Linked DNA regions of Homo sapiens: regions 2, 3, 4, 5, 6 and 7 are each linked to region 1. The links are contacts of gene promoters, found by promoter capture Hi-C in blood cells and fetal thymus (Javierre and others, 2016). All regions are on one chromosome and are shown on one strand. The core of a region is centred on a gene start or on the middle of the fragment in contact, and the rest is flanking DNA. Distances in the headings are between cores, read along the strand shown. Region 1 holds the start of PPP2R1B (protein phosphatase 2 scaffold subunit Abeta). Region 2 overlaps IL18 (interleukin 18). Region 3 overlaps POU2AF1 (POU class 2 homeobox associating factor 1). Region 4 has its middle 46 kb from the start of POU2AF1. Region 5 has its middle 64 kb from the start of POU2AF1. Region 6 overlaps BTG4 (BTG anti-proliferation factor 4). Region 7 overlaps DIXDC1 (DIX domain containing 1).

Evidence for each region. The method cuts DNA at HindIII sites, captures the fragments that hold promoters and counts their contacts. A CHiCAGO score of 5 or more calls a contact.
Region 2: a fragment that was not itself captured here is called in contact with the fragment with the promoter of PPP2R1B in region 1 in 1 of 17 cell types (neutrophils); the score reaches 6.4 in neutrophils.
Region 3: a contact is called between a fragment that was not itself captured here and the fragment with the promoter of PPP2R1B in region 1, in 1 of 17 cell types (activated CD4 T cells). The highest score is 5.4, in activated CD4 T cells.
Region 4: a contact is called between a fragment that was not itself captured here and the fragment with the promoter of PPP2R1B in region 1, in 1 of 17 cell types (fetal thymus). The highest score is 5.9, in fetal thymus.
Region 5: a fragment that was not itself captured here is called in contact with the fragment with the promoter of PPP2R1B in region 1 in 5 of 17 cell types (fetal thymus, naive CD8 T cells, activated CD4 T cells and 2 more); the score reaches 8.5 in fetal thymus.
Region 6: a fragment that was not itself captured here is called in contact with the fragment with the promoter of PPP2R1B in region 1 in 1 of 17 cell types (fetal thymus); the score reaches 6.0 in fetal thymus.
Region 7: a fragment that was not itself captured here is called in contact with the fragment with the promoter of PPP2R1B in region 1 in 7 of 17 cell types (total CD8 T cells, total CD4 T cells, naive CD4 T cells and 4 more); the score reaches 7.6 in total CD8 T cells.

Annotation. Positions count from the first base shown.
Region 1 is chr11:111,764,987-111,767,717 of GRCh38, forward strand. PPP2R1B (protein phosphatase 2 scaffold subunit Abeta) reads right to left here and starts at 1,403. Exons shown (of 15, transcript NM_002716.5): 1 at 1,262-1,403; 2 at 308-398. The coding sequence starts at 1,375. RefSeq lists enhancers at 429-1,332, 1,219-1,398, 1,419-1,468. The HindIII fragment of the contact is 3,920 bases long and covers 1-2,109 here.
Region 2 is chr11:112,160,127-112,162,857 of GRCh38, forward strand. The region is part of intron 1 of IL18 (interleukin 18); the gene reads right to left. Among named protein-coding and RNA genes, the nearest start is that of IL18, 2.6 kb to the right of the region's middle. The HindIII fragment of the contact is 3,599 bases long and covers 1-2,731 here.
Region 3 is chr11:111,373,715-111,376,445 of GRCh38, forward strand. All of the region lies in intron 1 of POU2AF1 (POU class 2 homeobox associating factor 1), which reads right to left. Among named protein-coding and RNA genes, the nearest start is that of POU2AF1, 4.2 kb to the right of the region's middle. The HindIII fragment of the contact is 6,311 bases long and covers 1-2,731 here.
Region 4 is chr11:111,423,711-111,426,441 of GRCh38, forward strand. It overlaps a transcript of BTG4 not described here. Among named protein-coding and RNA genes, the nearest start is that of POU2AF1, 46 kb to the left of the region's middle. The HindIII fragment of the contact is 8,409 bases long and covers 1-2,731 here.
Region 5 is chr11:111,442,024-111,444,754 of GRCh38, forward strand. It overlaps a transcript of BTG4 not described here. Among named protein-coding and RNA genes, the nearest start is that of POU2AF1, 64 kb to the left of the region's middle. The HindIII fragment of the contact is 5,404 bases long and covers 1-2,731 here.
Region 6 is chr11:111,504,368-111,507,098 of GRCh38, forward strand. All of the region lies in intron 1 of BTG4 (BTG anti-proliferation factor 4), which reads right to left. Among named protein-coding and RNA genes, the nearest start is that of MIR34BHG, 4.9 kb to the right of the region's middle. The HindIII fragment of the contact is 2,624 bases long and covers 93-2,716 here.
Region 7 is chr11:112,022,446-112,025,176 of GRCh38, forward strand. DIXDC1 (DIX domain containing 1) reads left to right here. Exons shown (of 20, transcript NM_001037954.4): 20 at 1-208. Among named protein-coding and RNA genes, the nearest start is that of DLAT, 1.6 kb to the right of the region's middle. RefSeq lists an enhancer at 1,925-2,114. The HindIII fragment of the contact is 1,386 bases long and covers 789-2,174 here.

The sequences.
Region 1 (2,731 bases), core at 153-2,652:
ACTATGCGACCAGGAAGGTGACCCAGTCAAAATCCTAACAGCATTTTCTTTCTTCTCAACCGTCTTCCTGTATCTGCTTTGCACAACGAATTAGAAATTCATACTCCCGTATCAATTACTTTCAATAGCTAAATGGTTGATGTTTGAATATATCTAGCCACAACTAACAATATACTCTGTTCTGTTTCTTTTGCACAAAAAACACCTGGCTCATTTTAATGTGGGTAATAAACTCTAAAAAAGTCAGTGTTGAAAGCTACTGGAAAATGGAATGTCCCTACCTTTCTTTAAACAAAGATTCACATACCTGTAAGAAATGGCAACAATTCACTTCGGGTCCTTTCTACTCCAAGTGCTAGGGCAATTGTTGATAACTTCTTAATACTGTTGAGTCGGAGCTTCAGAAAAGAAAGTAGAAAGAAGAACAATGTAAAGAAACGGCTGAATTTAGATCAAAAGACAAAAGGTGCTAACAGGTGAAATTATGACACAGGGGTAAGAATGAAGATAACCTTTCATTTAGATTTTACTGTTAAGGAAGCTCATAAGGACTTCCAAAAAGAAGTGTAACTCGGCCTCACTAGCCGGCGGAGGATTTCCCAGGAGAAACACTCAGAAGGGACCGGAAGAGAAATGAAGGAAAGACAATACAACACCTAGGAAGTAAGATAATTTTAAAAAGAGAGCACTTTGGCAGTGGTGAAGCAGGTGAAACGGTTGAATACAACACCTGTGGTTTCAAAGAAAAGTTCCCACAGAGCGGATACACTACTCGTCCAGATTAATCGGCCATCCCACCCCCGCTTTCTACCCAACAAGCCGAGCCAGTTCCAAGCCGAGATGAAGGGATCCAGGGGCACTTCAAAGGGCTTCTGGGCATCCTGCGCCCCTCAGCCGCTCCAGCCCCGTCTCGGCCTGGCACCGCGCTTCTCCTGCTCCCTCGCCCAAGAGACGCGGCCACCTCACGGCCCGGATGGGGCGCCCAGGCGGGAAGCGGGTTCCCCGACAACCGCCCGGGAAGGGCAAGGCTCCGGGCGGACGCCTCAGGGGGTCCGAAGCAAGGTTACTAGAGAGGTACCCGGGAGGGTCGGGGCGTGTCACCACAGCCCCTCGCGGAGCATTCCCCGCCTCCCCTTCAAGTTTCTGCTACGAGTCCGACTCATTCAGTACCTCGGCCACCCCCACCGCGACGCAGGCCTTCCCCCTTCTCTACCACGCGACCAGCCGGTCTCGCCTCGGGTCCCCGGCCTCAGTCCAGTACCTGCACGTCTTCATTGCGGAGCTCGTCGATTAAAACCGCGATCGGGTATAGCGAATCATCTCCATCTCCACCCGCTGCTCCTGGGCCGGTCCCGAGCTCTGATGCGCCCGCCATGTTCTTTCTCCTCCTGCTGCTGGTCACCGCCTCCCGCCCCGCGCCCAGGCCCCGCCCCGCGCCCAGGCAGTAGGGACGAAGGCCGCCACGCTGGTTTAGCCGAAGTTGGGGAGCCGCGTTTCTGTCCCGATGATTAAGGCTCCCTTCTGACCCCCACTGCAGGAGTTGTAGGTCTGAACTCAAGAAGACGGGTGGGCTAAGAAAGCGAATGGAACCCCTGCGTCCTTTCCCCAGCCGAAAGAAACAGGGACAGGGATTCATCCAGCTCGTTGTAGTCTGAAGGAGCCAGGAACCTACCTGAATGATCTGCGCTGTGCCCTCTTAAGACTCAGGCGGACCAAAGAGAGTGCCCGAGGCCAGGAGGAAAAAGGCTTTAGCACCTCCCCTGACTTCTTCCTGGCCCTGAGCCACTGGATCTCCAGCCCTAATTTCTCCGCTCAGACTCAAACTTCCACAGAACCCCTCCACCTCTTCCCGCGGCTCTTTCTCCAGAATGGTATCTGGCTCCTGCTCCGTAAGACAAATAACGCGGGCGGTGAGAGAAAATGAACAGTGCTGTCCAAACTCCCCAGTCAATATTTTTTCCACGCAAGCTGTTAAAAACATGCTGCTCTCTTGTTTTTGTGTTTCTTTTCAGTTTGGTACTGGAATGGTGCCTTCTGTTGTATTTTCTTCCTCCCATTTTTTAGCTCTTTAGCATGCTAGAAGTACAACAATGAAGCAAAACTAGGACAAGCTTTAATCCTTCCAAATTGGGTGGGGTGGCTACTTTCTTGAGCAAGAAAACCCAAACTGGCCTCCCTAGACCTCCAAGAGTCCTCAGAGGCAGCAAGGGGAAGAGGTGGAGGTCTGGGAGCTCGTTCTTACAAACCTGAATGGAAAGTTTTCACTTACCCCTGTCAGGGTAGCACAGAATAATTAGAATGTTTTGTTTGTTTTAGACTGGAATTTAAGCAGCTTGGAGTGATAACTACATATGGTGATCACAAGCTCCGAAATGGTAATTCTATGTGCCTGATTAATAAAACTATAAATGCAGTGTAGGAGACAAACTTTTTTAAAACATGGGATTCTGAGGCCGAGGCGGGCGGATCACTTGAGGCCAGGAGTTCGAGACCAGCCTGGCCAACTTGGTGAAACCCTGTCTCCACTAAAAAATACAAAAATTAGCTGGGCTGGTGACGGGAGCCTGTAGTCCCAGCTACTCGGGAGGCTGACATGAGAATCGCTTGAGCCCGGGAGGCAGAGGTTGCAGTGAGCCAGGATCGCACCACTGTACTCCAATCTGGGCGGCAGAGTGAGACCCCGTCTCTAAAATAAATAAATAAATAAATAGCGTTCTTGGAAGTAAGCACA
Region 2 (2,731 bases), core at 159-2,658, 400 kb after region 1:
CAGAAATGTCTCCAGAATTTGGTATCTCCTCTCCATCTCCAACAGCACTGTTTTAAATCAAGCCCTCATTACCCCTGGCATCTTCTATTTTAATACTCTTCTACTTGGTTTTCTTGCTTCCAGACTCTCCTCCATTGTTGCCACAGTTATTCTCTCTGCCAGGCCAGAACTTCCCCTTCCCCTGCCTTTTTTTTTTTTTTGCCTGCAAACCCTGCCTCATCTTTCATCCCGTAACTCCCAGCTTTAATAGTTCCTCTAGGAAAACTTCTCTGCTCTTTCATTCCTAGCTAATTATTCTCTCCTCAGAGTCCTACCTCCTTCACACCTGTTCATGCTTCTTAAATAGCTCTTACTACCCTAAATTGAGATTACTTTGATTAAAAATAGGTCTGTTCAGCTTTCATCTGAGTTTTAAGACAATGAGTTGTCTTTTTTCCCCTGAATTTTCAACACCTGGAAAGAGCTTACCACACAGTAAGAACTCAATAAATGTTGTATGAATAAAAGTTTGCTATGATAAACCTTGTTGCCATGACAACAGCGTAGAAAGGGATGTGTAGAATATATATATTTTTTCTATCTTAAACTTTCCCTCCACCTGAAAGCCAATGAGAAGGAGGAAGAACAGGAGGGAAGCCTGAAAACAGAATTTTAAAAATAGAATAATTTTTCTAATGTCTTCTCCATTTTTCCCTAGTAGTTTCTTTTTTATTTCATGTGTTGATTTTGAATTCTTCATTCTTATTTTCTTACAATTCTTCTTGTTAGTTCTCAATACATCTATGACTGATTACAAGTAGTGTGTTCTCATCCCCATTCCTCCTCTCCTCAATTTTCCTCTTCCTTTCTCATCCGTGTTTCTTTGCTTTAACTCTAATCTATGAAAATTATAGTATCCATTGGATAAAAATGCTTTGACTATTTCATCTAAAATTCTCAGACTACTGACTTTTTTTTTTTTTAAGAGTTATAAACCACCTCAGAAAGATCCTCCCAGGAGTAAGCAGTGACAATTTGTTCTTTAAAACAGACATAAAAATTTAGTTATGCAATACTTTGACAACTAGCCAGAGGCTAGTGAATGGTAGAATTTCATGATGGAAATTAGGACACATGAGTTCCAGTTTTGTCTGGGGCAAGTCACTTAATTTTAAGGGTCTCAGTTCCCTCATTTGGACAAGGAAGTTGGCTAGTCAGTCTTTAAGGTCTGTTCCAGCTCTACCAACCTGCAATTCTAGACTCTAGTTAAAGCTGTAAGGAGAGAACCATTGATATGTGGCAAACGGCCTAGTAACCACTTCTTCATAATTCTAAGACAGTAAATATTTATGGCATATTTATTATACAACCAGCATTGTTAAGCCACTAAGAGTTTAAAAACATACTATTAGGCTGGGCACGGTGGCTTATGCCTGTAATACCAGCACTTTGGGAGGCCGAGGCGGCTGGATCACTTGAGGTCAGGAGTTCGAGACCAGCCTGGCCAACATGGTGAAACCCTGTTTCTACTAAAAATACAAAAATTAGCCAGGCATGGTGGCATGTGCCTTGTAGTCCCAGCTACTTGGGACACTGAGGCAGAATAACTGATTGAACCCATGAGGCAGAGGTTGCAGTGAGCCGAGTTCGTGCCACTGCACTCCAGCCTGGGTGACACAGCAGGGCTCCATCTCAAACAACAACAACAACAACAAACATACTACTAGATTAAAAGTTAAAATGCCTTGAACTTGAAAAGCAACTATGATTATGTTTATCCTTGCTGTGGAATTCCAATCCTGTTGAATAGGTATGGGATGAAATGAGGGAGCATGCTACATAATTAATTACCTGAGATCAGGTAGGTAGTCATCTTGACAGCAACAAGATCAAAACCTAACTTTTCAGTTCTATAAATCATTTTATCCTTGAACATTCTGCCATCTTATTATGAATGCGTGTATGTGAGTGTTGAAGAGGTGAGAGTAGCAGAAAACTTAAAAAATAAGTTTTTAAGTTTTTGTTTTTGAGTCTGTAGACTCAAAGCAAAAAAATCAAAATGGAACTGATGTAGTTTAAATGGCCTAGTTTGAAAAGGAGAATTGAGTTGAATCTCAAAGAATGCTTAAAGATTTGAATAGATAGAGAAGGCAATGGACCAGCATTTATGTGATAATCAAAACAATGTTGTGGTGGGGGTGAACTGAATAGAGCGATGTTTTTTTCTTTTCTTTTCTTTTTTTTTTTTTTTTTGAGACATGGTCTTGCTCTATCACCCAGGCTGGAGTGCAGTGACACAGCAAACATGGCTCACTGTAGCCTTGACCTCCTGGGCTCAAGTGATCCTCTTGCCTTAGCCTTTTGAGTAGTTGGGACTACAGGCACATACTACCACATCTGGCTAATTTTTGTATGTTTTGGAGAGACAGGGTTTTTGCCATGTTGCCCAGGCTGGTCTTGAACTCCTGAGCTGAAGCAATCCACCTGCCTTGGCCTTCCAAAGTGTTGGGATTACAGGAGTGAGCCACTGCACCCAACCTGTGATTTTTGGATTGTAGTGGAACAGTCCTGCTATTTTGCAGTGAACACAAGGTAAAGTCGGATTAGATTATGGAGGGCTTTGGAAATCAGGTAAAAGAGTAAATTTAATCTCACAGGCAATAGGAAAACATTGCAGATAAAAAGTTATTTTGAAGGAAGTTTGTTTGTTTTTTTGTTTGTTTTTTTGAGAAAGTCTCGCTCTGTTTAGTGG
Region 3 (2,731 bases), core at 111-2,610, 390 kb before region 1:
CTGTAGAATGGAAAGTAAAACCCCTGGCTCCTGCCTACAAGTGCTTGTCCCCAGTATCACACAAGCGGGACAAGAGGGTTTCAGAGAAGGCCTCCCCATCCCAGGTAGGCTCACTTAGTTGTCAAGCAGTTCTACAAAAATGAGAAAACTAGAGTGTTATTAAGCATTTCATAAAGGTGAGAATTATGTTAATGTTCATAATCAATTAGCCAACTTTGGTTTGGTTGGCTCAGAATAAGAAATAGGTGGACATCTTCATTAAGTGGGAAGATAAACTACTTTAGAAAGATGTCAAAGGGGGAAAAAACACTTTGTAATGGGAAAGTTAAAAGCAAATATTTATAAGACTTCTTTATGAATTAAATGTCCACATATTTAATGAACAGCTGTAGGCAAACTTGATTTTTTTTTTTTTTTTTTTTGGTTCCTCATGAAAGAACAGAATCCCAAGTGTGAATTGGGAGAGAGCTTTCAAAACTTCTGAGTCAGTAACTTTGGGGACAAATCTGGCATTTTCTTTAGTAAATAAATATAAGGGGCAGGAAGTAAAATATCCATCAAGAACATCATCTGCTTTTTTACCAATTAAATCTGTGTATTTGGTTGATGTTTGTCCTTTATTTCACCTCCAGACAGTGCACGTGAATTTGTGTCTCTCTTTTGGATTCTACTTGCCCTTAACAGCAAGAACTGCTTAATTGGCCAGGCGTGGTGGTTCACACCTGTAATCCCAGCACTTTGGGAGGCCAAGGCAGGTGGATCACTCGAGGTCAGGAGTTCGAGACCAGCCTGGCCAACATAGTGAAACTCCATCTCCAATGAAAATGCAAAATTAGCTGGGCATTGTGGCATGTGCCTATAATCTCAGCTACACAGGAGGCTGAGGCAGGAGAATCACTTGAATTTGGAGGCAGAGGTTGCAGTGAGCTGATCTTGCACCACTACATTGCAGCCTGGGTGACAGAGCAAGACTCTATCTCAAAAAAAGAACTGCTGAATCAATGGAATCAACTTGGTAAGAAGTAAAGGTGCTCACTAGGCTTATTAAATAAGCAAAGGTTGTAACATAGAATAGAAATATTAGAGGTTGTCCAGAAACCTAAATTACCTCTCATTGTAAGTTGTGCTTAAATTTATGTAGGAGATAGGCTTCCAAAAATTATATGCATAGTACACATTTTACTTATCTTTAACTGCCTCCCAAACAATATTGGCTCTTTAGTGGAACCCTAGAGTACATCTGAAGAGCAGAGTTCTATGTTGATGAGAATTTTAAGTCCTTAATTTTTCTGTTTGCTAAATCTCTGCTCTGTTCAAGTTGTCTGAAAGCAAAGGCATATCCATGACATAATAATCTGATACGAATTATTTCCTGTTCCAAGGCCAAGTCCACAGGACACCAAGACAATCAGCCAGTCCAAAGAAAATCAGTCAAGCCTGCCTTTCATTAGCATGTAGATTGTTCCCTAATACAAACAACAACAATAAAAAGCAACTGTCCAATTTGTTCACTTTCTAACAAATGGAGTTCAGTTTATTATACACAGTTCTATCACTTTTAAGGAAGAAATTCAATCAAATCAGTTTGGGGCATTGTACAAATTATTTAATGAATTGGCTGCAAGTTTTATTTCCCATTGGTGTTGGCAATGTACAACCCCAGGATACTGAGTATCTTTTTTTTTTTTTTTTTTTTTTTTGAGGCGGAGTCTCGCTCTGTACCCCAGGCTGGAGTGCAGTGGCACGATCTCGGCTCACTGTAAGCTCCGCCTCCCGGGTTCATGCCATTCTCCTGCCTCAGCCTCCCGAGTAGCTGGGACTACAGGGGCCTGCCACCACAACCCCAGCTAATTTTTTTGTATTTTTAGTAGAGACGGGGTTTCACCATGTTAGCCAGGATGGTCTCGATCTCCTGACCTCGTGATCTGCCCGCCTTGGCCTCCCAAAGTGCTGGGATTACAGGCGCCCGCCACCGCACCCGGCCTGATACTGAGTATCTTAAGGAAATGAATGCCTGAAGAACCAAGCAAATCATCTCAGACCAGAGGTTGGCAATGTTTTTCTATTATAAGCCAGAGAGAAAATATTTTAGGCTTTGTATGCTGCACAGTCTCTGTCACAACTACTCAACTCTGCAAAAGCAGCCCTAGACAATATTCAAATGATAGACAGAGCTGTGTTCCAATAAAACTTTATTTACAAATGGAGTGGCAGGCCTGATTTGGCACAGAGGCCATAGTTTGCAGACCACTATTTTAGACCCTTGGAAAATTTTGCAATATCCTATCACCCAAGAATATTTAGACTGTGGCTTTTTAACTATTCTAATCAAAGTGTGGAAAAGAATATATGAATTTAACATAACACTGATCATTCAAGATGGGCCCACAGGTGGTTTCCAGGACGGAAGGTACTAACTCATCCCTACCACTACTTATCAGGAAACTTGCTATCATTTTACCTACATTCTCTACTTTAATTCTCACAAAAACCTTGGGAGGCAGACATTAGAATCCCCACTTCCCAGATAAGGAAATGAATGGAAATTTCCTTCTCACAAAGAAAGAACTAAGTTGCACAGGCAACTTTCAGACCTGTCTCCCTCCAAGGTTCCTGCTATTTCCACTACACTGTTACTAGCTGGGGAGGGATGGTAATTCTTCACATGTGCACCTGACCAGCAGGTCCAAGTCCAGAACCCAGGGAGAGAATCTACAGATGGAGTGACTTC
Region 4 (2,731 bases), core at 70-2,569, 340 kb before region 1:
TGCCACCACCCTCAAAAAATAGATATCACCATCAGATGAGGAAATTAAGGCATAGAAAGATGAGAGACATGCCAGGATGAAAACTCAGCTCCTTACACATAAAGACCACTTTCTGGAGGAGCTGTGAGCTGAGGACTGTTAAGACGAAAGGACATTGGAACCAGGAAATCTCCGAGGCCTGAGCTCCTTTCAGGGCCCTGCCAGAAGAGGAGGCCGAGAAAGCCAGACCTCTCCCTCCCCAGGTGCTAAGTCACCACAGAGACCCTCCCCAGGTCACCACAGCCTTAGAACCACCACCACCAGTGGTGACAGAAGCCTCATGGAGGAGCAAAATAGGTGAAGGGAAATGAGCACAGGCTCAGAGGCTTGACCAGCCTCTCCCATCCTGCCCATCGCAAGAAACATGTTCTTCAGAGAGCTCTTAGCTAGAGAAACACTAAAGGCCCTCACAGGTTCATCTTTAGGGCATCTCCCATCCACAGCCCAAGTCGATACAATCCAGTGCCCCAGGATACTGAGAGTGACACGGATAGATGATGCTCAATTTGGGAAGCAGCAAGGGCAAGGAAAGCAAGGAAACTAGCCTGGGCTCTAGAGCTGGATGACTTACAAAATGTTGGTGTCACTATCTAAAAACAAAGGAGTCAAGAGGAACACCATGGGGTGAGAAAGGAGATGATGAGTTAACGCGAAAATGCTGGGCGTCCTGCCCCACAACTTGGCATGGAATTCACCTCAATATAATTTTTGCTGTAAGATGACAGTGCTAATTTGTTCACATTTATTACAGTTGGTTAATCCACCCAAATAATTCATTTATTTGAGGCCAATAAACTGAATGCTAACTGGCCTCAAAGTCATTCATCATCATTAAGTGGTAAGGTTATGTGGTTATTAATAAACCAAGCCTGCAGATAAAAGATTTACGGTCACTTAAGCATTTGTTTATTAATTCAATAAAATTAGGCCAGATGTAGTGGCTGACGCCTGTAATCCCAACACTTTGAGAGCCCGAGGTGGGTAGATCACCTGAGGTCAAGAGTTCGAGACCAGCCTGACCAATATGGTGAAACCCCGTCTCTACTGAAAATACAAAAATTAGCCAGGCGTGGTGGCAGGTGCCTGTAATCCCAGCTTACTCAAGAGGCTGATGCAGGAGAATCACTGCAACCTGGGAGATAGAGATTGCAGTGAGCCAGGCTGTATTAGGTACTTTAAAAGATTAATAAAAACAAGCCCGGTCCCCAAGTAGCTCAAACCTTACTAGAGAAGAGATGTGATGTCAAGGGCCATGAGAGGGGACAAACTGCCATGGCAGTTTAGAAAGCGGATGAGCAGGTCCTTCTGTACAATCATAGAGGGCTACATGAAGGAAGGCGCCATTTGGGCTGGACCTGGGAAAATGGGTAGGTGTGGAACAAACTTTTATCATGGGGCATGCATTCCAGGCAGAACGTGTGCAAAGGAGGAGGTAGGAAAAATGAAGGGTATTTTTTAGAAGCAGTAAGGATTCCTGGAAGACAGTGGCAGCATTTCTGGGTAGGGGGTTCACAGGTGTTGTTGAGGCCCTGCTGCATGCCAGGCACTCTGTACCATAGGCAGGCTCCATGCTGATCATGGAGATAAACACATACACAAAAGACACAGGAGCCCTGGCCTCATGGAGCTCATAGTCCCTCCAAGGATACAGTCGAAAAAGAAGACTGGAGAGCCCCCAGTGCTGACCATTTAAGGAGCCTGGGGACTTGGGGGTTAGCAATGGAGAGTTAATGACAGTTTTTAATGCTGCAAGGTTATGATCAGCGCCTTTTAGAAGATTTATCTGGCCCGATAGTAGAAGAAAAACTTAAGAAGAAAGACGGGAAATATTGAAATTTCAGTTAAGAAACTACTGTAGTAACCCAGATGAGAGATAATTACCAAAATCAGAGCAGTAGGTAGGAAGAAAAATAGGGTATGAATGCAAGAGATACTAACCAAGCAGACTACACTCAATCTGGGAACTAGCAAGGGCAAGAAAAGCATCGAAATGGATCTGAGGGCGGGCACAGTGGCTGACGCCTATAATCGCAGCTCTTTGGGAGGCCAAGGTGGGAAGATCGCTTGAGCTCAACAGTTTGAGACTAGCCTGGGTAACATAGTGACACCCCATCTCTACAAAAAATTTAAAAATAGCTGGGCATGGTGGCACACACCTGCAGTCCCAGCTACTCGGGAGGCTGAGGTGGGAGGATCACGTGAGCCCTGGAAGTTGAGGATTCAGTGAGCCGAGATTGCGCCACTGCACTGCAGCCTGGATGACAGAGCCAGACCTCGTCTCAAAGAAAGAAAAAAAAGGAGAAACTGACCTGGGCTCTAGTGCCTAGGTGATTTACAGAATGTTGGCATCATTATCCAAAAACCAGGGTGTCAAGAGGAGCACAGCGGGACAAGGAGGAGGGTGATGAGTTCATGTGGGGTATGCTCAGTGTCTTCCCACAATGAGAAAGTGGGTGGTCCAGCCAGAGAGAGGTGAGAATTGCCAAGAAACCATGAAAGCAGTGACAGAGGAAGGGAAGGGAAATGAAAAAAAAATGGAAAGGAGGACTGGATTGAGAGTGGTTGTATCTACACATTGTATAGATCCTCCTGGCAGAAGACTCTAGCACCCATGGTTCTCTCTCCGTGTCTCCAAAGCTCTTTGGAAAGACACTTTCTTTGGCAAAAGAAAAGGAGAACACACAATAGAGAG
Region 5 (2,731 bases), core at 129-2,628, 320 kb before region 1:
ACTCCAGCCTGGGTGACAGAGCAAGACTCCATCTCAAAAAACAAAAAAAGAAAGAAAAGTGAGTTGAACATAAGAGACCAGAGCATAGCTAACACCCAGACTTTGGTTTCTAATAACATTCTCCAATAAAAAGGAACCAGAACTCCTTGGGGATATGGCCAATTCTAGGACGGGGACAGGAAATATACGAGATGAGATCAGGTGCGGTGGCTCACGTCTGTAATCCCAGCAATTTGGGAGGTCGAGGCAGGTGGATCACTTGAGGTCAGGAGTTTGAGACCAGCCTGGCCAACATGGTGAAACCCCATTTCTATAAAAATACAAAAAATTAGCCAGGCATGGTGGTGCACAGCTGTAGTCCCAGCTACTCAGGAGGTCGAGGCAAGAGAATCACTTGAGCCAGGGAGGTGGAGGTTGCAGTGAGCCAAGATCGAGTCACTGCACTCCAGCCTGCATGACAGAGTAAGATTGTTTCAAAAAAAATGTATACACACACACACACACACACACACACACACACACCAGATGAGCCTGGGGCATCTTATAGTGCCAAAAATATAAGGAAGTACTCGAAAAACAACAACAACAACAACAACAACCCACAATCATGAGGTATGTCCAAAGGACCCCGTAGCCCACTGGCAGAGCTCACAACAACCAGCACTGGATCATTTTGAAAGACAGGGAAAAAAAAAAACTCTCTATCTAAATCTAAAGTATGAAATGAATACCTATAAGTCCATATTGATATAAATAAATGTTCACGTGAATAAATAAAAATGAAGAAGCAACAAATCTCACATGCAGAAGAATCTCAAATAACTTGCATTCGATTAACTTACGTTAATTTCAAATAACTTAATTCCACCCTCGGGGAGGGATAAGGCAACTGCCCACTCCTTAAGTGTGGGCTGTACATAGTGATTTTCTTCCAATGAGCATAGTGTGGAAAGGGAAAAAGAGTAACCTCTACAGTGGAGGAAACCTGGCCAACGCTACCTCAGCCAGGTGATCAAGGTCAACACCAACAGTGATACATCATGTTGATTGCATGTACCCTTCATACAACGTGATGAAAATGGCACCTTGCCTCTGTGGTCTTCCTCTCAAAAACCCACACCTCCAGTCCAAGCGTTAGAAAAACATCAGATAAATCCTAACTGAGGAACATTCTACAAAATATCTGACCAACATTCCTCAAAACTGTCAAGGTCATCAAAAACAAGGAAAATTTGAGAAATTCTCTCAACTGAGAGTAGGCAAAGCAGACATGATGACTGGATGTCATATGTGGTCCTGGAACAGAAAAAGACAATAGGTAAAACTAAGGAAATCAGAACAAAGTATGGGTTTCAGTTAATAATAATGTATTGGTTCATTAATTATAACAAATGTACCATATTAATGTAAGCAGTTAATAAGAGAAGAAGCTGGGTGTGAGGTATATGAGAACACTGTACTATCTTTTGAAATTTTTCTGTAAATCTAAAACTGTTCTTAAAAAATAAAGTTTTTCAAAAAAATATCAGCACATTCTAGGAAAAACTTACATAACTTAAAAACAGAGGGAAAAAAAAGAGAGACAAAAGGGACTTTGGGATCATGGAAATTAAGTCGTCCCCCACCTGTCAGACCAGTGGAAAGTCAGGTAAAATCAGAACTGAAAGTGACATCCCGGGGGCACTGCCAGGGTCCTGAGAGAAGGCAGTTTGGGGATACAGTGAAAGTCAGACAGCTGGGGGCAACAGGACGAGGACCTGGGTGCAACAAGTGTAGGGCAGCAATCAGAAAGCGTGGTCTTTAGGTATGGGCATAGATGAAGCAGGAAGCCTCACTTAGAAGCCTCCAGCTCGAGGACGCTTAGCAACACAGGTGAGTATTTAAAACAGTGCAGAGTGGGGAGTAAGAAACCAGGGTGAGACAGCACAACCACCTCTGCAAGCATTTAAAACGGACATGTGCCTAAACGATGCCTGCTTTGCAGGAACTCACAGACACACATTTGGTTTAACAGAATTATTTTTTATGGGGAGATGGAAATAAGAATAAATGGAGAAAAATAAATGAACAAAATAGGAGAAGTTTCCTGCCCAAACCACACCAGCAATGACAATGTTCCATGAACTGAGTGTAATTAATTCAAACCACTACCCTGAGGGGTGTGTGTGTGTGTGTGTGTGTGTGTGTAGAGACAGTGTGTGTATGTATGTGTGACTGAGAGACAGAGAGAGAGGAGAGGAGAGGGAGGGAAGAGGAGAGAAGGGGAGGGGAAGGCAGGGGAGGGGAGGGGAGAGAAGACATAGGAGAGAAAGGAAAAGAAACAGGAGAGTCCTAAGAGGCAATGTCTCACTTATTTGTGGAATCTAAAGATCAAAACAATTGAATTCATGGACATAGAGAGTAGAAGGATGGTTACCCGATGCTGGGAAGAGTAGTGGGGGGCTGGGAGGGAAGGTGGGGATGGTTAATGGGTACCAAAACAAATAGAAAGAATGAATAAGACCTACTATTTGATAGCACAACAGGGTGACTATAGTCGATAATAACTTCATTGCACATTTTAAACTAACTTAAAGATTGTTATTGAATTGTTGGTAACTCAAAGGATATGTTTTTTGACACATGAGATGTTTTAATACATAATACCCCATAAATATATACACCTACTATGTACCTACAAAAATTTAAAAAATAAAAATTAAAAAGTAGAAGAAGAGGTAAGGGAATCAAA
Region 6 (2,731 bases), core at 155-2,654, 260 kb before region 1:
GATTTGAACTCAAAAGAAATTAATTTTAGTGCAGCCTAATCAAAATAAAATTCCTTTACCAATAATACTAAGCAAGTGTTTTATCCGCCACAAGCTTCTTCCTAATTTGTATTTTCTATCTGCATTACTGAGCATTCACAATGTAAGTGGCATTGTTTGAAAGACCACAAAAAATACATACATTTATATAACGTTTCAAGTTAGAAACCAAGATAACTCCTATTCAACATAGTACTGGAAGTCCTGGCCAGAGCTATCAGGCAAGAGAAAAAAATAAAAGGCATCTGAATTGGAAAAGTAGAAGTCAAATTATCTCTGTTCACTGACAATATGATTGTATACCTAGAAAACCCTAAAGACTCCTCTAGAAGACTCCTTGGCCTGATTAACAACTTCAGTAAAGTCTCAGGATACAAAATCAATGTACAAAAATCAGTAGCATTTCTATAAACAGTAACATTGAAGCTGAGAACCAAATTAAGAATCCAATCCCACTTAGGATAGCCACGAAAAAGACCAAAATACTTCAGAACACATTTAACCAAGGAGGTGAAAGATCTCTACAAGGAGAACTACAAAACACTGATGAAAGAAATTGTAGATGACACAAATAAATGGAAAAACATTCCATGCTATGAATTGGAAGAATTAATATGGTTAAAATAACCATATTACCCAAGCAATCTACAGATTCAATGCAATCCCTATCCAATTACCAGCCTTGTTTTTCACAGAATTAGGAAAAACAGTCCTAAAGTTCATAGGGAACCAAAAAAAGCCCAAATAGCCAAGGAACTCCCAAGCAAAAAGAACAGAGTCAGAGGCATTATATTGCCTGACTTCAAATTATACTACAAGGCTATAGTAACTAAAATCGCATGGTACTAGTACAAAAATAAACCCAGAGATTAATGGTACAGTATGGGGTTCTCTAACCTAGAAATAAAGCTACATATATACAACCAATTGATCTTCGATTAAAGTCAACAGAAATAAACAATGGGAAATAGACACCCTATTCAATAAATGATGCTGGAAAAACTGGCTAGCCATATGCAGAAGACTGAAACTAATTCCCCATCTCTTAACATATACAAAATTAACTATAGATGGATTAAAGACCTAAATGTAAAACTATCAAAACTGAAACTATAAAAATCCTAAAAGAAAACCTAGGAAAACTCCTTATGGACATCGGCTTAGGCAAATAATTTATGATGAAGATTCCAAACACAAACGCAATAAAAAACGAAGATAGAGAAATAGGACATAAACTAAAAGTTTCTGCACAGCAAAACAAATAATCAATAGGATAAAAAGACAACTCACAGAATGGGAGAAAATATTTACAAATTATACCTCCAACAAAGAATTAGTATTCAGAATCTACAAGAAATTCAAACAACTCAACAAACATAAAACAAACCAATTGAAAATGGGGCAAAGAACATGAACAGACATTTCTCAGAAGAAGAAATACAAACAGCTAACAAACATATGAAAAAATGCTCAACATCACTAATCATCAGAGAAATGCAAATTAAAACCACATTGAGATACCATCTCACTCCAGTCAGAATGGCTTTTATTAAAAAGTCAAAAAACAACAGATATTGGTGTGTATGCAGAGAAAAGGGAATACTCACACACTGTTGGTGGGAATGTAAATTAATTCAACCTCTATGGAAAACGGTATAGCGATATCTCAAATAACTAAAAATAGAACTATCATTCGACCCAGCAATCCCACTACTGGGTATCTACCCAAAGGAAAAGAAATCATTATATCAAAAAGATACTTGTACTTGTGTGTTTATTGCAGCACCATTTACAATTAGAGCAAAGTCATGGAATCCACCTACATGTCTGCCAACTGTTGACTGGATAAAGAAAATATGGTGTATATATACACAATGGAATACTACACAATCATAAAAGAAGAATGAAATCATGTCCTTTGCAGCAACATGGATGGAGCTGGAGGCCATTACCCAAAGTCAACTAACCCAGAAGCAGAAAATAAAATATTACGTATTCTCACTTGTAAGTGGGAGCTAAAGAAATGGTACATGTGGAAATGAAAATAGAGAAAATAGACTCTGGGGACTCCAAAGGTGGGTGGGGAGGGTTGAAAAATTACCTACTGGATACAATGCCTAATACTGGGGTGATAAGTACAGCAGAAGCCCAACACGCAACATTATGCATGTAATACCCATGTAACAAACAAGAATATGTACCCCTTAAAAAAAGAAACCAAGATAACTCACTAAAATTAATTCAGAGTGTAAGAAAATGTTCCTATGTGCAACACTCTATACTAATATAAATATGTGTATATGTATCAGCACTCTATACCATTATAATAAAATGCTGAATTCAAAATACAATTAGAATATAGAATAATACTCTCTTATTAATGGAACATACTAATTTTAGAGTGACTATATTAAGTGTCAAAGTGATTAGAGAAGAGAAAGGATCAGGAAGAACTAAAGGTACTAGGGAAGATTTTACCCAGGAAGTAGAATTTGAGCTTGAGATTTCAAGAAACTATAGAGGAGCTAAGAGCAGAAAGGACAATGTGAACTTTACTAAATGTAAGCATGATGAAATCCTTGAGATATATTCTATGAATATAGAGGAAATAAAGATAACAAATGAGGATTATGTAAATTTTTTAACTAAATATAAGTTTCCCACTTTAAAAAAAAAAAGCTTAAGTGCCAAA
Region 7 (2,731 bases), core at 232-2,731, 260 kb after region 1:
TGTTTTCATGAAGACTATGTTACACCAGAGGCTTCTGATTATCAAAGTGATAACCAGTTTTAACTGCCGGTATGTACCAGATTTGTGAACTAATTTAAAAAACCACAAACTATGAATAAAATGGGGTTTGCAAACTAAATATCATTAATGATTTTCACTTGCGTTTACTGATGAGATTAATCAATAAAGCCATTTACATTTAGTGAAAGCAAATTTCCTCAAGTGATCTCCCTGGTAGCATGTTTACTCACTATGTGGAGTGGAGATAAGAATTACTTTATTGCTACAGATATTTTACAATTAGTATTTCTATGTAAGCACATAGGCTATTATCAAGGACAATTTATTTAGCACTTATTTTGAAATTATATGTAAACATGCAAACAAATAAGAACCCAAGAGTATAAACTCTATGACAAAAGTCAGTATGCAAGCATTAAGAACTCTTTCAGAAATGTGTATTTAAAATGACCAGAATTCCCAGATCATTTGAAAGCTGCCTCTTAAATGCCTCTTATCAATTCATCTTAAATGTTTGCTATATTAAATTCTTTATCCCTGAGTGCCTTCATTTGACTTCCAATTACGTATTTTCAACTATTAATTGGCTATCCCATTATGTTAAAATTAAATATGTACATAACTCAAAATCTTTCACTACCAACTAATTTCTGTTTCTCTCAATATCAGTGATATCACCATTCTCTTAAGTATCTCTATTTCAAACCTTTGAGTCTTGAGTCTCCTTTTCCATAATTTCCTTTATCCAGTCTGTTTAGTGGAATTCAAGCTTGTTCTCTCAGGACTGATTTGAGAAACCTAAGCATTCCTAGCCCACCTCTGGGGTAAGCTCGCCATCTCTGGACTGTTTGAGCTATGCATTCCTATAATTTAACTACACTTAAGTCAAAAGTATATTCAAGACACAAACTCGCTATTCTTTGAAAAATGCAAAACAGGGTTTAAGCAAGCATACCTAAGTGCACAACAGATCCGGAAGATCACCTCATACTTTATACCAAAGTCTAATTTAGATCCAGTTATTAAGTTCAAATGCAGCAAAAGCAGCAAGATATTTTAGCCAACTCAAAAACATTTTTATAATAATTTATAAGTCCTGGGCGGGCATGGTGGCTCGCGCCTGTAATCTCAGCACTTTGGGAGGCCGAGGCAGGTGGATCACCTGAAGTCAGGAGTTTGAGACCAGCATGACTAACATGGTGAAACCCCGTATCTACTAAAAACACAAAATTAGCTGGGCATGGTGGCACGTGCCTGTAATCCCAGCACTCGGGAGGCTGAGGCAGGAGAATCGCTTGAACCTGGGAGGTGGAGGTTGCAGTGAGCCGGGATCATGCCACTGCACTCCAGCCTGGGCGACAGAGTGAGACTCCATCCCCAAATAATAGTAATAAGTCCTTTCAGTAATTACAATTATTCTTTCATTGCTTCTTCCAATTGTTAATTCATAAGTTGTACATAATTGTAACAATATAATTGCTCTCTTCATATTATTTAAAATATGCCTTTTCATTCAATCTAGAAATTTTATATTTCTCAATTATATTGCTTACATATTATTCTGATAGACAGCTGTACCTGCTTAAACATTCCAATTTAAGTAGGCATGAAATAGTACATCCAATCTGTTTTAGTTTTCCAAATTAATTGTTAGCAAGATTAGCCCCCATTTTTTTTTTTTTTTAACAGATGGGAGTCTCATTATGTTGCCCAGGCTGGTCTCAAACTCTTGGGCTCAAGTGATTCCCCCACCTCAGCCTCTCAAGCATTGCTGGGACTACAGGCATGCACCACCGCTCCTGGCTAAAATCTTGTTTTAAGTTTCTTCCCTCCAACTTCCTCTTGCGTTCTTGGTGTTCTCTAACCATCTCTACAGGGGGGAGGTGGTGATACACAGCACATGCTTCCTCCTTATCTAATGTCACCTTCAGTTCAGAAACGATATGTTTTCTAATTAAAAGACAACTTTACAAGAGAAGCGTGCCTAACAAAATGTGTAGATGACTTTTTATTCATTGATTCAAAAGACATACATTCAGCCCCCGCTATTTACTGGATATTAAGCTCTGGGGCTACATGGAAGGACCACGCAGACACTCTTCATGCCTTCAACGGCTTACAGTTAAGTTTTTCAAACATTTGAAACATAACGAAGCTTTTGGTTACTTAAAAGAATTCTATGGTATTAGGGAGCAACACCTGTTTTGTAAACCTATATCTTCATACAGGGAATATGCTTAATCTTGCTACAGTATACATGAATGCGGGAATGTATCTTCCTCTGGGCTGCCTTTCGTTACCACTTGGCTGGGTGGAACACCTGTTCACTCCACTTTCCACTTGGGCTACAAACCTGAAACGAAATCTTTGCAACCAGTACAGCCTGCGCGGGGCGCGGCCCAGTCCATCCCCCTTCGGATGCGCAGAAGCAGAGGTCACCACGCCGGACCCCTCGATTCCCTCGCGGGCGATTCCTGGCTCCTTCACCACCCCAGCACTCCAAGACCCCCGCCCTTTGGCCTGAGGCTCCCACTGCCCTAGCCAGTTCCCGGGCTCACTTCCAGCTTTTCCAGAAAGCTTGGCCACGCCCCTCGGCCCAGACTCTCAGGCCACTCGGCCGCAATTAACCCGCGTCTCTGCGCCTTTTTAGGCCCCTCCCCCTCGGTCGTGCCCTTGTCATCTCTTAGGCCCCGTCTCACCCTTTCGGATG